Regions from separate parts of the Homo sapiens genome. Here regions 2 and 3 are each linked to region 1. The links are contacts of gene promoters, found by promoter capture Hi-C in human tissues and cell types (Jung and others, 2019). All regions are on one chromosome and are shown on one strand. Each heading gives the region's core, a stretch centred on a gene start or on the middle of the fragment in contact. The rest is flanking DNA. Distances are from core to core; before and after follow the strand shown. Region 1 holds the start of ZNF827 (zinc finger protein 827). Region 2 overlaps ANAPC10 (anaphase promoting complex subunit 10). Region 3 has its middle 50 kb from the start of OTUD4.

Evidence for each region. Contacts are between HindIII fragments. The study calls those that stand out against the background at their distance.
Region 2: a fragment that was not itself captured here is called in contact with the fragment with the promoter of ZNF827 in region 1 in 1 of the 25 tissues and cell types used here (dorsolateral prefrontal cortex).
Region 3: a fragment that was not itself captured here is called in contact with the fragment with the promoter of ZNF827 in region 1 in 1 of the 25 tissues and cell types used here (dorsolateral prefrontal cortex).

What each region holds. Positions count from the first base shown.
Region 1 is chr4:145,936,241-145,941,011 of GRCh38, forward strand. ZNF827 (zinc finger protein 827) reads right to left here and starts at 2,583. Exons shown (of 15, transcript NM_001306215.2): 1 at 2,125-2,583. The coding sequence starts at 2,167. RefSeq lists silencers at 246-825, 926-1,335, 1,456-1,525 and an enhancer at 1,900-1,959. The HindIII fragment of the contact is 3,959 bases long and covers 818-4,771 here.
Region 2 is chr4:145,068,095-145,072,865 of GRCh38, forward strand. All of the region lies in intron 3 of ANAPC10 (anaphase promoting complex subunit 10), which reads right to left. Among named protein-coding and RNA genes, the nearest start is that of ANAPC10, 28 kb to the right of the region's middle. The HindIII fragment of the contact is 9,287 bases long and covers 1-4,771 here.
Region 3 is chr4:145,227,939-145,232,709 of GRCh38, forward strand. No RefSeq gene overlaps it. Among named protein-coding and RNA genes, the nearest start is that of OTUD4, 50 kb to the left of the region's middle. The HindIII fragment of the contact is 6,443 bases long and covers 1-4,771 here.

The sequences.
Region 1 (4,771 bases), core at 1,333-3,832:
ACCAACTGCTGCGAGTTTTCTGTGAATCGCAGCGCGGAGCCTCCCAACTCGCCCTCCCCGACTCCACCGCCTTCTCCTTCCTCGCACAAAATTTCCCTACACACGCAGCCGCCTGCGAGTGATTTTATGTGCATATATATTACATATGTGATATTATCCTCAGAACCTCTAGCGGGCAGGCGAAGAAAGGACTGCACAGGGGCATTTTTTTTTTTTAAAGGAAGGGGAAAAAAGCACAACCCAAGCCCTTTGCGTCGACTCCTGCGTACCGGGAAGGGGAAAGAAAGAGGAATGTTTGCGGAGCGGACTGCTTGCAAGTGCCCTTGCTCGCCACTTCGGCTGCGGCCCGGGTGACACGGAGGCGCGGGGGCGCCTGGCCCGAGCAGCCCGCGCCCCCCTCCCGGTCCCCTGGGCAGGCACCGCCGCGGTTATTTCGCGAGGGGGAGATCGATCGCCCTGCCTGTCTGCAGCGGAAAAGCACAAGCTCACACACAGCCCGAGCCCGAGACACCATAACCTTAACCCTTCCCCCACCCTCCGTGAACTTCAGGTGACCGACCACGTCGGCCTGACACCCGGGCGGGCGGGCGCTCCGGCTCCACTCCCGCCCCCAGCCCGGGTTTTGCAGGATCGGGCTCCGAGCAGCGCCAAACCGCCGGGAGAGGGGAGTAGTGTGGGGGGAGAGAAGAGAAATTGACCCTCCGTCTCCCCCGACCCCTCCCTCCGGCGCCTCCCGCGTCCCCTCCTCCCCGTCACCCCGCCCCACGCCTTCTCCCCTGCCCCCTCTTCCCTGCATTCAAGGAGCCGGGCGGCCCCGGGGGATATTTTTAGTTGCTTCTTTCTCCTTCACTTTTAGCTTTAGCAGCATCTCGAAACACTCAAAGCGGAGAAAGACTGGGGGGTTGGGGGGAGCTGGAGAGGGAGTGGGGGAAAAGTTAAGAGTCGCGCAAAGAAAAGCCGGAGGGAGGGCGGAGAGGGACCGGGGGCGCGGGTGGAGGAGGGGAAGGGGACCGGGCCGTGCCGGCGGGTGTGTGTCTCCAGTTGGCGTGTGTGGCTGCCGCCGGGGAGGGCTGTGATGCACTTTAGTCCTGGACTCTGCTCAGGCTCGCCAAGGAGGGGGTCTGAGAGCCCGAGTCTCGCCCGGCTCCGTCTGCTCCGACTGACCCCGCATTTTATTGCGGCCAGGAGCCCTGCTCCTCCCTCTCCTCCGCTCTGCAGGGACCTCGCGCGCCGCGAGCCGCCCTGCCTCCTGCCTTCGCCTCGGCGCAGCTCCCGCACCCCACATCCGCCCGCCGCTGCCCGGCCTCGCCCCCCGCCCGGCCGCCCCGCGCCCCGGCGCGCCCCCTCGCCTCGGCGCCGCGGGAGCAGCCGCCCGGCGGCGCGTGTGTACCCGTGTGTTTGTGTGCGGTGCCCCTACACCCTCCCCAGCCGCTCCCGCCTCGCCCGCCCCCGACTCCCCTCCTCCGCCGCCGCCTCCTCCACCTCCGCCTCCTCCTGCTCCAGCCGCCGCCGCCGCTGCCGCCGGCGGCTCGGGGGCCGACCAACCCCGGCGCAACCTTTAGCCAGGGACGGACCTCTCCCTGGATCCTGTACCCGGCGGCTGCTGCGCGCCCTCTCCCCGACACCCCCAAACGCCATGTCACGGCCCCCAGCCCTCCGCGCGCCCCGACCCCCGCACCCTCAGGCGCCGGAATCCACAAGGAATTTTTTTTTTTTTAAGATTCCAACCTCTCCCACCTCCCCCCACCAAACCCCCGATAAAACCCCCGGCATCCACACTACTCCCCTCCTCCCTTCTCTTGCCCCCTCCCCCCAGCAACCCAGAGTGAGGAGGGGGAAGGGGAGGGAAAGGGAAAAAAAAGCCCGATCTCAAGGAAAAAAAGGGGGGGGGTGAGAGAAAGAAAGAAAAAGAGAGAGAGAATAGAAAGGGCACGGGGCTGATCATCACCAACATGGCTGCCTCAGCATAGACCTAAACGAGGAGTAACCCGGGCTGTGTCTTTGTCAGTTTCACCTCTGTAACCCTAAACTAATGCAGAAAACAACGGAGGAGGCTGCGGAGGGGAAAGAGGAGAGGGAGGGCGAGAAAATGGCACGAGAGGAGGTGGAGAAGGGATGACTTACGTGAGGGAAGGCGCTTGGGCTGCTCCTGCTTCCTCCTGGGCATTTTCCCCCTTTTCTCACATTCTCCTCCTTGGTTAATGTGAGATCAAATAAACCCCCGTGGGGGCAGAGAGGCAGACACTGGCAGGAGCGGGGAGGTAGTTGGGGGGCGGGCGGGCGGGCAGGGGGAAACCCCTTCTCCGGTGTGTGCAATGGGTTGAAGCTTGTTTCCTGGAGCCAGAAGAGGGGTTTTCTTCTTTTCTTTCCTTTCTTTTTTCCTTTTTTTTTTTTTTTTAAATTTTTGGTCGTGCACCTGGCTTGTCCCCGAGCGTAATATTCTTCAATGGAAACGGATCTAATAGGTGTGAGTGTGTGTGTGTCCTATGCTCGCGTGTGTGATGGGAGGTATAAATAAATGAGTGCCGGTGCGGCGGTGTCTATGGCCGCGCTCTGTGTCTCCGAGCCCCTAACACTAATGTCGGGATCAAAGGGCAGCGGCGGCGGCAGCACAGCTCACAGCTCGCTCTCTTGCTCTCTCTCTCTCTCTTTCTCGCTCTCTCTCCTCTCGCGCTCTCTCTCTCGCTCTCTCTCTGTCACACACACACACACACAAGAGGCACAGACTGAGGGAAAGAGCGAGAGCTACACACACACACACGCACGCACACACACACACAGAGCAAAGAGGAAAGTGCCCCAAGGCTCCCAGGGCGGACTCAGCCTCGGATTTACAACCGCTCTGTCTGGAAAGAATGGGGGGCGCGCGTGCGGGGGTGGGATGGAGTTCTTCAAATTTATCCCGCTAGTCACCAAATCTAGGGGGAAAAAGTTTTTCTCACTCTTTAAACAACGATTAGTTCATTATTTTACTGACTTTTAAAAAGGAAATAAATTTCTCTCTTCACTTTCTTTTGTTTATTAAGCTACATTTTGTTCTGTATGAAATTCTGCAGGCTTTTGTCCCTACCCCATCACCTTAAATCTGGAGGTTATCGTCTCCCACACACTCTTCAAAAACATTCCAAAAAAACTAATTTAAAAAAAATGAAGACAACATATGGTGAAATCAATAACTTGGTTGACAGTTGACAGAATAAGTGCCCAGTTTTGGAGTGTCCACTGGAGTTAAAACTGAAAAATGCTCCTAAATGAACATTACAGCTACTTGACAAAGAGAGGAAAATAAGATTAGGTCACCCCTGATGGTTGCTTTAACTGCTACGTGATACTCCTAGAGTGCACACAGCAATCTTTACTTCGGAAATTCACTTTTTCCCCTGCTATATACTGCAGGTATATGAAGTTTACCCTGAAGCAATTCCAGTGTGCATTATGAGCCCAATATAGCAGTTTTCATTAACTGATACATACTTTCATTACCTTACAAATCACACATCTTTCTTCAAAGAGAGACATAAAGGAGAAAAATAGAAAAGGACGGGTCTCACTAGAGCACAAAAGGTACTTGGTGAAAGAGGACTGTTCTCTTTGTGACTTGCAGTCATTTGGATAAAAGTTCACTCAGAGGTTGTTAATGATTTAAACTCCAAAACCTGCTACTATAATTGAAATAAAAATGGTCTGAAGAAGAGTTGTTTCATAAAACTCTCTTTGTAAGAGGAAACTTTGAACTTAGCAGAATACATTATATGTCATGAGTCATGTAGCTAGAAAATAAAAAGGTGCATTATTTAACTACATCTTCCCTTTTTAGCTTTTTTAAAACTCTGACTCATCATCTTATTATGTTAAATATTTTCCTACCAATTTTTAAATAGACCTTTTCATCAAAGAAAGTGGAGGCACAGTAAAGACATAGAACATTAAAATGACACTCTATAAGCCTACATGGATAACTCATGCCTCTTTGAGGTTGAGTTAATTCTTACAACTTCAGTGGTGTTAAAGAGAGCCATGGGGGTTAAATTCTGACTTGCCTTATTAAAAATAATAATAAGGCTTTATATTGCACACTTTTATAAGTGAAGCTTAAAGAGTGCTGTATCTCCCAAAAGATGTCTTTCACTGATAGAGAAATCTCACGTTCAACCCCTCCCTGCCAACTCCCCCCAAAAGATCTAGCTTCCCAGTAACAAGTAATGCTATTGAAAGCGAGGTTTGAAACACCTGCATGAATTCAATCTAAAACCAAAACAGAGAGCAGTCAAGTTTAAAATGGAGCACCCTGTAATCCCAGCACTTTGGGAGGCGGAAGTGGGCAGATCACGAGGTCAAGAGATCGAGACCATCCTGGCCAACATGGTGAAATCCCGTCTCTACTAAAAATACAAAAATTAGCTGGATGTAGTGGCACACTCCTGTAGTCCCAGCTACTTGGGAGACTGAGGCAGGAGAATCGCTTGAACCTGGGAGGCGGAGGTTGCAGTGAGCCGAGATCGGGCCACTGCACTCCAGCCTGGCGACAGAGCGAGACTCCATCTCAAAAAAAAAAAAAAAAAAAAAAAAGGAGCATCATCCTTAAACCAGTTCTTCCTCAAATGTTGGTTTTAAAAAACTGGTAGTTAGGTTGCCCTGCATTATAATTTGAAATATAACTATCTTTCCACTCAGGTCAAATTCAATTTGCCATAATTTTGACTATTGTCGGTGACATTGGACTTGAAATTAATATATTAATGATAAATTAGAGCCCATCCTTTCCAAGTAG
Region 2 (4,771 bases), core at 1,161-3,660, 870 kb before region 1:
AAACACACTGTGAGGCTGCCATACCACTCCTGGACTGCCAGGCTCCTCTTACACGAAGAGGTAGAAGAAATAAATTTCCACCTTGTAGAAAACACCATTATCAAAAGCTCTGCTACTATATGTTCTGATTTCTAATTAATACAGCATTACTGTGTCTGTATTACAGATGCAGAAACTGAGGTTCACATCAGGTTAAGCAAGTGGTCCTTGTTTACACATCTAGTAAAGCACAGAGCCAGAATTTAATCCAGGTCTATGTGACTACATTATATAAGAGTAACTAATAAACCCTAAGGTACAAAACTTAAAACTAAATATATGTGATAGACGATAGCTTTACATTTAAAGCTAAATGTAAAAAACAAAATAGTTATAAAACATGTTTTTAAAATCGTTCTTCTTAACGTGCTAGATATATTACCAGGAGGTTGAGACAAAATAAACACAGTCCACATAGTTGTTTAAATCAGAAGCAAATATTTATAAATAACTATATTCTTCCATATATGTTCCTGGTATAAAAGTGAAAAATGGGGGCCGGGTGCAGTGGCACACGCCTGTAATCCCAGCACTTTGGGAGGCTGAGGCAGGCAGATCACAAGGCCAAGAGATCGAGACCATCCTGGCCAACATGGTGAAATCCCGTCTCCACTAAAAATACAAAATGTAGCTGGGTATGGTGGCATGTGCCTGTAGTACCAGCTACTTGGGAGGCTGAGGCAGGAGAATCGCTTGAACCCAGGAGGTGGAGGTTGCTGTGAGCCAAGATTGCGCTACTGTACTCCAGCCTGGTGACAGAGCGAAACTCCATCTCAAAATAAGAAGTGAAAAATGTCCTCTGTATCAATGTTAACTAGATGCTAAGATGAAAGTTTTCGCGGAAGACTACAACAACAAAGACCATGTTTTGAAAGGATATATGAGACCTTAATGCATAATTTTCAGCAGATACGGTCTTAAAATAAAATAAAACAAGAAAGTCCGAGACATCTGCTCATGAAGGTTAACTGCTACATGACTTGCCTTCCCACTACAGACAACTAGAATACTGGAGAACATATCTGAAGCATCCAGAGATGCTGAGCAACAGGCAGCACAGGCCTCTAGGTCCTGAGAGAAAGAAAATAAATGAGGTGAGCCCTACAAACAACTGAGTTTTCTGGCTGCAGGCAATTTTGGGACTGCAATGTGAAGAGGGAGATGCCAAAGAGAATCTAGTAGTCTACTGAATTGATAAGGAATAAGCTACACAAAGAAAAAACTCCAGAAATATGCGTGGGGTCCCCTTCATTCTATGCCTGAACACAATATGAACATGCATACAGCAAAACTTCACAAGGATAGGCAAAGAACAAGCACTGGGGAAAGAACAATTACTGGAAAGCAGTAAGCCAAACAATTTCCAGTGGGCACAGAGGACTGGGAATCATTAAAGCTCCCAATAACCGAAGTGGTAAGTCCTCTTCAAATACCTAAGACATTCGTTTGAGATCCCAGATGAGTCAAGCCTTAGTAATGAGGCTAATCTTGCCCAAGAGAAATGATCTTAAAGAGTGGTCTGGGGACCTACAGAGGACCTCAAGACTCTTTCAGAGGATCAGCAAGGTCAGAACTATTTTCTTAATATTACTAAGATGTAATTTGCCTTTTTCAGAATCATTCTCTTATGAGTATGTAGTAGAGTTTTCCACAGGCTGACATGGGATATTGTAAAAGATTTAATGAACAAGCAGAAATGAGACTCCAGCTATTTTTTGTGAACCAAAAAGGTTCACAAAAAATGTAAACAATGACACTCTTCTCACTATTTTTGTTGTTGTTCATTTGGGAAGAGACAGTTATTTTTCATAAAATTGTTATTTATGTTGTTAACACATAATAGGTTAATTATTGTTTATTTTTAGTGAATAACTAAATAATTTAAAGTCCCTAATCTATAATTTCTAAAATAGTAAATAATGAGATACATATATAAAGATTTCTGAAGTCCTCAATAAAAGTTTAAAGCAGTACTGAGACTAAAAAGTTTAAGAACTTCTGCTCTAAAGCAGGGCTTGGTAAGCTACAGCTTGCAGGCTAAATGTGGACCGCCACCTATTTTTGTAAATAAAATTTTATTGAAACTAAGTGACACTCCGTCATATACACATTGTCTATGGGAGCTTTAATACTACAATGGCAAAGTTGAGCAATTGCAGCAGGACATATAAAGAAGTCTTACAGCTTAACAACAAAAAGACAACCCAATGTAAAAAGAGGGAAGGGACTTAAGCAGTCATTTCTCTGAAGAAGATATACAAATAACCAGGAAGCACATGAAAAAAATGCTTGATAGCACAAAACATTAGGGAAATGAAAATCAAAACTATAATGAGACAGACTCATTAGGATGACTATTATCAAATGTTGGCATGGATGTGGAGAAACTGGAACTTCTGGGCATTACCAGTGGGAAGGTAAAATGGTACAGCTACTGTGAAAAACAGTATGGAGGTGACTCAAAAACTTAAACATAGAATTACCATATGATCCAGCAATTCCACCTGTGGATATATATCCAAAAGAAGTGAAATCAGGTACTTGAACAGATATTTGCACACCAATGTTCATAACAGTATTATTTACAACAGCCGAAAGGTAGAAACAACCCAATGTCCTCTGACGAATGGATAAACAAAATGTGGCACAGTCATACAATGGAATATTATTCATCCTTAAAAAGGAATGAAATTCTGACACATGCTACAACATGAATGAACCTTGAAAACATTAGGCTAAGTGAGAAAAGTTAGACACCAAAGGACAAATATTATATAATTCCACTTATATCAGGTCCCCAGAACAGTGAAATACACAGAGGCAAAAAATAAAACAGCGATTATCATGGGCTGGAGAGAAAAGGAAATTGGGTGGTTATTATTTAATGGGTTCCACACAGGATGATGAAAAGTTCTGAAGATGGAGGTGGTAGTGGTTGCACAACACTGTAAATGTACTTAAGGATACTTAACTGTACATTTAAAAATGGCTGGCCAGGAACAGTGGCTCATGCCTGCAATCCCAACACTTTGGGAGGCTGAGGAGGGCAGAGCACCTGAAGTTGGGATTTCGAGAATAGCCCGACCAACATGGAGAAACCCCATCTCTATTAAAAATACAAAATTAGCCAGGCGTGGTGATGCATGCCTGTAATCCCAGCTACTTGGGAGGCTGAGGCAGGAGAATTGCTTGAATCTGGGAGGCAGAGGTTGCAGTGAGCCAAGATCGTGCCATTGCACTCCAGCCTGGGCAACGAGAGTGAAACTCCGTCTCAAAATAAATAAATAAATAAAAAGGCTATAACAGTAAACTTATATTTATATTTCACTACAAATAAAAAAAATCTTTACTGTTTATTACTCACCATCTCAACAGAATATTAAATAAATAATATTGAATTTTATTATTCACCATCTCAACAGAATAAAGAAAAACCATATGATCCGTATGAACAGATACAGAAAAGGCATTTGAGAAAATCCAAAAATGTCTCAAGAAACTGGGAAAAGGGAACTTTATAACCTGATAACCTGAAGGGTTATCTTAGTTTCTTTCTAGAAAGGATGAATAATCCTCATCAGGAAGCTGGAGGTACTACCATGTAAAAAAGAAGATGATTAATATACCCTCAACAAGAGAACTGCAGATAAATCATCCATAGCATTAAGTGAATGTGGGTGGCTGATTCTCTCAACCCACAAAAGCATCCATAAGATAATAGTCAGCTTTAAACATACAGCCAAGTACAGAGAACATCAATGCTATATCACCAAGATACAAATGGCAATTACAGACTTTCCTTCTTTTCTTACCTCTTCTTCGTTCCCATACTAGCAGATCTAACAAATTCAGAAATGTGAAAGGACAAAAAAAACACAAAAAAAACAAAAAAAAACTAGGTAGGGTAAGAGAAGCAAACTACACCCAACTTGCAACAAGCCCAAGTTTAGGGAGAGGAATAAAACTTAAAGAAACTTTAAAGCAAGATTGAGGCTTTCACTACTCACTAGAACTGAACACTTCTATTTCTAAAATATATTTTGCCATTTGAAATAAACATAAAACTGGGTAGGTTACCAAAAAGTGTGCTATATGCTCCCCACCAAGTTCTCATCCAGAGCAGAGAAAGAGCTTGTTCTAATTTTAAAACACAATGAGATATAAAATAATGTTGCTTTATATATGTTACAATATATGTTCACCTTAACAGATCAGTAATACATACAAATTATTTCTCAACTAGCTGAGAAACTGCTACATAAATCGAGAGTTGCTTATTTTCTATGTGAAGAAAAAACATCTAAGGAACCAAATAGTTTAACAAAATATAAACTCCAAATTGAACCTCTTTCAAACTTGTTTGTAATATAATTTTTTGAATACAGGAATTTCTTCCATTAGTACATAATGTTTTCATGAAAACATGGATGAAGATCAAATGGAAGAAAGCTGAACCCTGAACTTATATAATAGAGGTAGGAAAGTTAGTTCTCAAGTGCTAAAAAAATCTACCCAATAGAGGTAGGAAAGTTAGCTCTCAAGTGCTAAAAAAATCTACCCAATCCTAAATCACAATCCTAAATTATACCAGATGGTTCAGTCACAATCTTTGACAATAAATATTTAACATTTCCTTTTGGTGTTCATAATTCAATATGTAGGTGACTAGTAAAGTCCAATGAATATCTAGTTGAGTCTAATGATTTCTAATGTATTCACAAGTATTAATACA
Region 3 (4,771 bases), core at 1,641-4,140, 710 kb before region 1:
TCTTCTCTACACGGTTTATTTTAGTTAGCCATTCGTCTAACCTTTTTTCAAGGTTTTTAGCTTCCTTGTAATGGGTTAGAACATGCTCCTTTAGCTTGGAGAAGTTTGTAATTACTGACCTTCTGAAGCCTACTTCTGTCCACTCGTCAAAGTCATTCTCCATCCAGCTTTGTTCCATTACTGGCGAGGAGCTGTGATCCTTTGGAGGAGAAGAGGCTCTGGTTTTTAGAATTTTCAGCTTTTCTGCTCTGGTTTCTCCCCATCTTTGTGGTTTTATCTACCTTTGGTCTTTGATGTTGGTGACCTACAGATGGGGTTTTGGTGTGGATGTCCTTTTTGTTGATGTTGATGCTATTCCTTTCTGTTTGTTAGTTTTCCTTCTACAAGTCAGGTCCCTCAGCTGCAGGTCTGCTGGAGTTTGCTGGAGGTCCACTCCAGACTCTGTTTGCCTGGGTGTCACCAGCAGAGGCTGCAGAACGGCAAATATTGCAGAACAGCAAATATTGCTGCCTGATCTTTCCTCTGGAAGCTTCGTCCCAGAAGGTCACCTGTCTGTATGAGGTGCCCATTGGCTCCTACTGTAAAGTGTCTCCCAGTTAGGCTACATGGGGTTCAGGGACCCACTTGGGGACAGTCTGTCTGTTCTCAGACCTCAAAGGCCATGCTGGGAGAACCACTGCTCTCTTCAGAGCACAGTTGGAAATGTAGAAATCACCTGTCTTCTGCATCAATCGTGTTGGGAGCTGCAGACCGGAGGTGTTCCTATTCGACCATCTTGGAATGGAACCCCCATTTAGATGCATTTTGACATATGCCTATGTTATGGTTTTAATGTGTCCCCCAAAATTTCATGTGTTGGAAACTTAATTGCCTTTGTAACAGTATTCAGAAGTGGGGCCTCTAAGAGGTGAAAGATTAATGCCATTATCTTGGGAGTGGTCTCCTGATAAACAGATGAGTTTGGCTTGATTTTCTCTCTGCCTTGTATGCTTCCTTGTCATTCTGCCTTCCACTGTGGGGTGACCCTTGGCAGATGCTAGAGCACCATGCTTTTGGACTTCCCAGTCTGCAGAACCATGAGTCAAATAAATCTAAGGGCTAAGGGGGCAATATGAGGGATTGGCAATTGGAAGCTGGCAAAGGCTGAATGTGCCAGACAAAAGTAGGGTCTTAGTGGGGGCACACAACTATTGCCATACTGTAGACCTGCAGGAAGCTAGCCAGGCCTCTGCTCCTGCCTGTTGACTTCTGGAACCAACTGGAAGCCAGAAGACAGGGGATCCATGATGCATTCTGCACAGCTCAGTCACCAGAGGTTCAAAGAAGAGCCAGAAAGAATAGATAGTGGGTCTGGAGAAGCATACAGAGAATATCCATGTACAGACTTCCAACAATACCCTGTTCTCCTTATACATTAATGCCTTAAACTACTCACTTCTGATCTAGAAAGTCATAATACATGGTTTCAATCTAGAGACTAGTGGTTCTCAAAATTTTCTTTCTATACTTTCCTAATGTCAGATTATTCTAGGAAGTAAACACTCATCCAGGAGCCACATTTCCCATCCCCTTGTATGTAGGTGACACATTGAGACTGAATTGACCAATGGGAGGTGAGTATAAAGGGTTTATCCCTCTTTCAAGCTTGGCTCATGAAAAACTGCATGTTTGATCATCCATGCTCTTTTCCTCTTTAAATTGGCTGGAATGAAGGCAAACTTTACTATTATGATGTTAGGAATCATATGTTGAAGATGAAAAGGTCAAAGATGGATGAAATCTGAGTCCCTGAATCACTATTTAGAGAGCTCATAGAAACAGAAATACTTGCACTGGAAGAAAAAATAAAATACATACAAGAAACTTATTCATTAGGGAGGCGCTATGGTTTGAAAGCTTATGTCCCCCTCAAAATTCATGTTGAAACTTAAATACCCAGTGCAATGGAATTAGGTATAGAGGGCCTGTAGAAGCTGATTAGGTCATGAGGGTGGAGCTCTCATTAGTGACCTTGGGGGTGGAGAGAACTAGTCAGGCCCTCTTGCCTGTCTTCCTCCCACCATGTGAGTATGCAACAACAGAGCACCACCTATGAAGCAGAGAGCTGACTTCACCAGACACAGAACCTCCTGGCACCTTGACCTTGGACTTCCCAGCATCCAGAACTGTGAGAAATAAATTCTATTTGTTATACATAAAAAAAAAAAAGAAGGCCTGGTGCAATGGCTTATGCCTGTAATTCCAGCACTTTGGGAGGCCAAAGCAGGCAGATCACTTGAGGCCAGGAGTTCAAGACCAGCCTGGGCAACATGGTGAAACCCCGTCTCTATTCAAAATGCCAAAAAATTAGCCAGGCATGGTGGTCCCAGCTACTTGGGAGGCTGAGACTGGAGAATCGCTTGAATCCGGGAGGTGGAGGTTGCAGTGAGCTGAGATGGCACCACTGCCCTCCATCCTGGGTGACAGACCAAGACTCTGTCTCAAAAAAACAAAAACAAACAAACAAACAAAAAACAAAGAGAGAGAGATTGGTGGTTCTTAATTCCTTTGGGGTCACAGATTTTAAGATGTGCATGTAAGTACTCACACAAATTTATGTACAATATTTTGCCTCCTCAGAGACAGATAATATTTTAGTAAATAATGAATTTGATTTTTTCACTTATATTCTCAGAAAAAAAAGTGGCCAATATGTAACAACTTAAAAAATAAATCCAAATTGTGTATTTAAAATTTAAAAAAAAGAAATTCAATAGGAAATTTCTGTTAACAAGGACATTCCAAAAGTACATGGATTTTTTTTTTTTTTTTAACTTCAATAAGAACAACTTTTGGAGCGGTCACTGGCAGGTTAACATGCCAACTTTTTCAACTTTGACATTCCACAGATGTCAACTCTAACACTAATGATAGAAAGTTATGAAATCTCTGACTTCCAAGGGTGAGTAATTGCAGATGGAATCAAAATTCCCATTGCTTGCTTGCTTTTTCAAGTAAGGATTGTATCAAAAAATACCAGAATTCTCAAACAGTTTATGAGTTAGATTCTATTTGTGCCTTTTTTTTTTTCCCCAGATCATTGAGAACATCTTTGTTACTGGCACTGTCTACATGGTATTTTGAGCAGAGTTTTGCAGTGTTTCCAAGTGCTGCAGTTTCTTCCCGCAGAGAGATGGCCACTACAGACTCTAGCTGCCAGAAGAATTTCCCCCAGATCTGGAAAGTTTCTACAGTTGCTTACCTCGAATATTCACATACAGAGAGGTACTTCCTCCAAAGTGCGGTTTTCCAACAACTCCATAATGGTGAGTATGAGACCTGTAGTTAGGAGTATGGGCTCCAAATTTAGACTACCAAGGTTAAAAGCTTTGCTCCACCCCCTTGCTAACCATGGTAATTTAAGCAAGTGACTTGCCTGTTTCTTCATCAGTGAGTAAAACAGTACCTATTTGATAGGATTATTATAGGAATTAGCTTAATTCAGATAAAACCTTATAATAGGGGCATCTGCATTTTTTAGTTGTTCAAATGGCCACATATATCTGGAAGACTATGAAAAAATCTCTTCCTTGCTGTTCGTTCTTCTGTTCATTCATTCATATATTTCTAAGTATTTACTGAGCACCCACTATGTGCTCAGCATTGTGCTGTGTGCCAGAGATACAATGATCAGCTAAAATAGAATCAGTGCCTGGCCTCATTGAGCCTTCAGTCTAATGGGGAAGACAGATATTAATCAAATAGTCATAAACACACATGTAAAGTTGCTGTGGAGAAAAGGTATATTGTTCTGTGAGAAAAAATAATGGAGACTTAACCAATAAGAAAACATTGTTTAATCTGCAATCTTAAGACTAAGTAGAAGTTATCAAAGAGTTACTTACCCCAAGTTCAATTAAGTTCTATTAGACTTAACTTCCAGACAGCTGATGAATTTCCATATAGCAAAAGAAAACTTCATAATCTGCTTTTCTAAGAAAACTTCTTGAAAAGACAGAAATGCAAGGCTCTGAAGCTAAATAGGTTGATGACTTTGTGGTTGCAAGCAAAATTTTATTTGGGATTTACCTTTGACACTAATGCAAGACAATCTAGAATGGAATGAATCTCATTGCTAGTTCTCCAAGCATGCATAGTATCAATGTTTCTTTGAGTGGAAATTTTGTTTGGCCAATAAAGTTTTTACAATTTCAACACCATAGGAGGCCTTTGAACTTTCTAAAAGTGCTCCCAAAATAGAAATCCTCATTTGATGCTGTTCTTGTGCAGATAACATGGGAACTGGACCTGGCTCTGCCAACAGATGTCAATACTTTCACGATGAAGAGAAATAGCGATTCCTTCATGATCTGCTTCAAAATATTGGAATAGATTTTAGTGATTCTGGAATGGATGAGAAGATTTGACAGAAGCATTGTTTTACTTTTTAAATTTTCCTTCAAATTACAAATCAGAATAACCATTTCCAGGACATTTTGCTTCAGCAAGGTCTTTTATTTAGTCGTGCAGCAAGCGATCTTGCAGGATGACTCAAGACAATACATCTTTGTGTTGGAGAAAATCCAAGTTTTTAATGCTTTCCAATTGACCCTTTTACTAAGGCAAAAGAGGCAGACTGTGCAGTGTATTTTCAGGATGTAAGGGATCACTTCAGCTTTGTTCGGTTCCTGCTTCCATAGGTAATATGTTCAACAATGCAAGCAAAATCCAAGGGGGCAGACAGAGATAAAGAGAGATTCTTGGCCAGGCGCGGTGACTCACGCCTGTAATC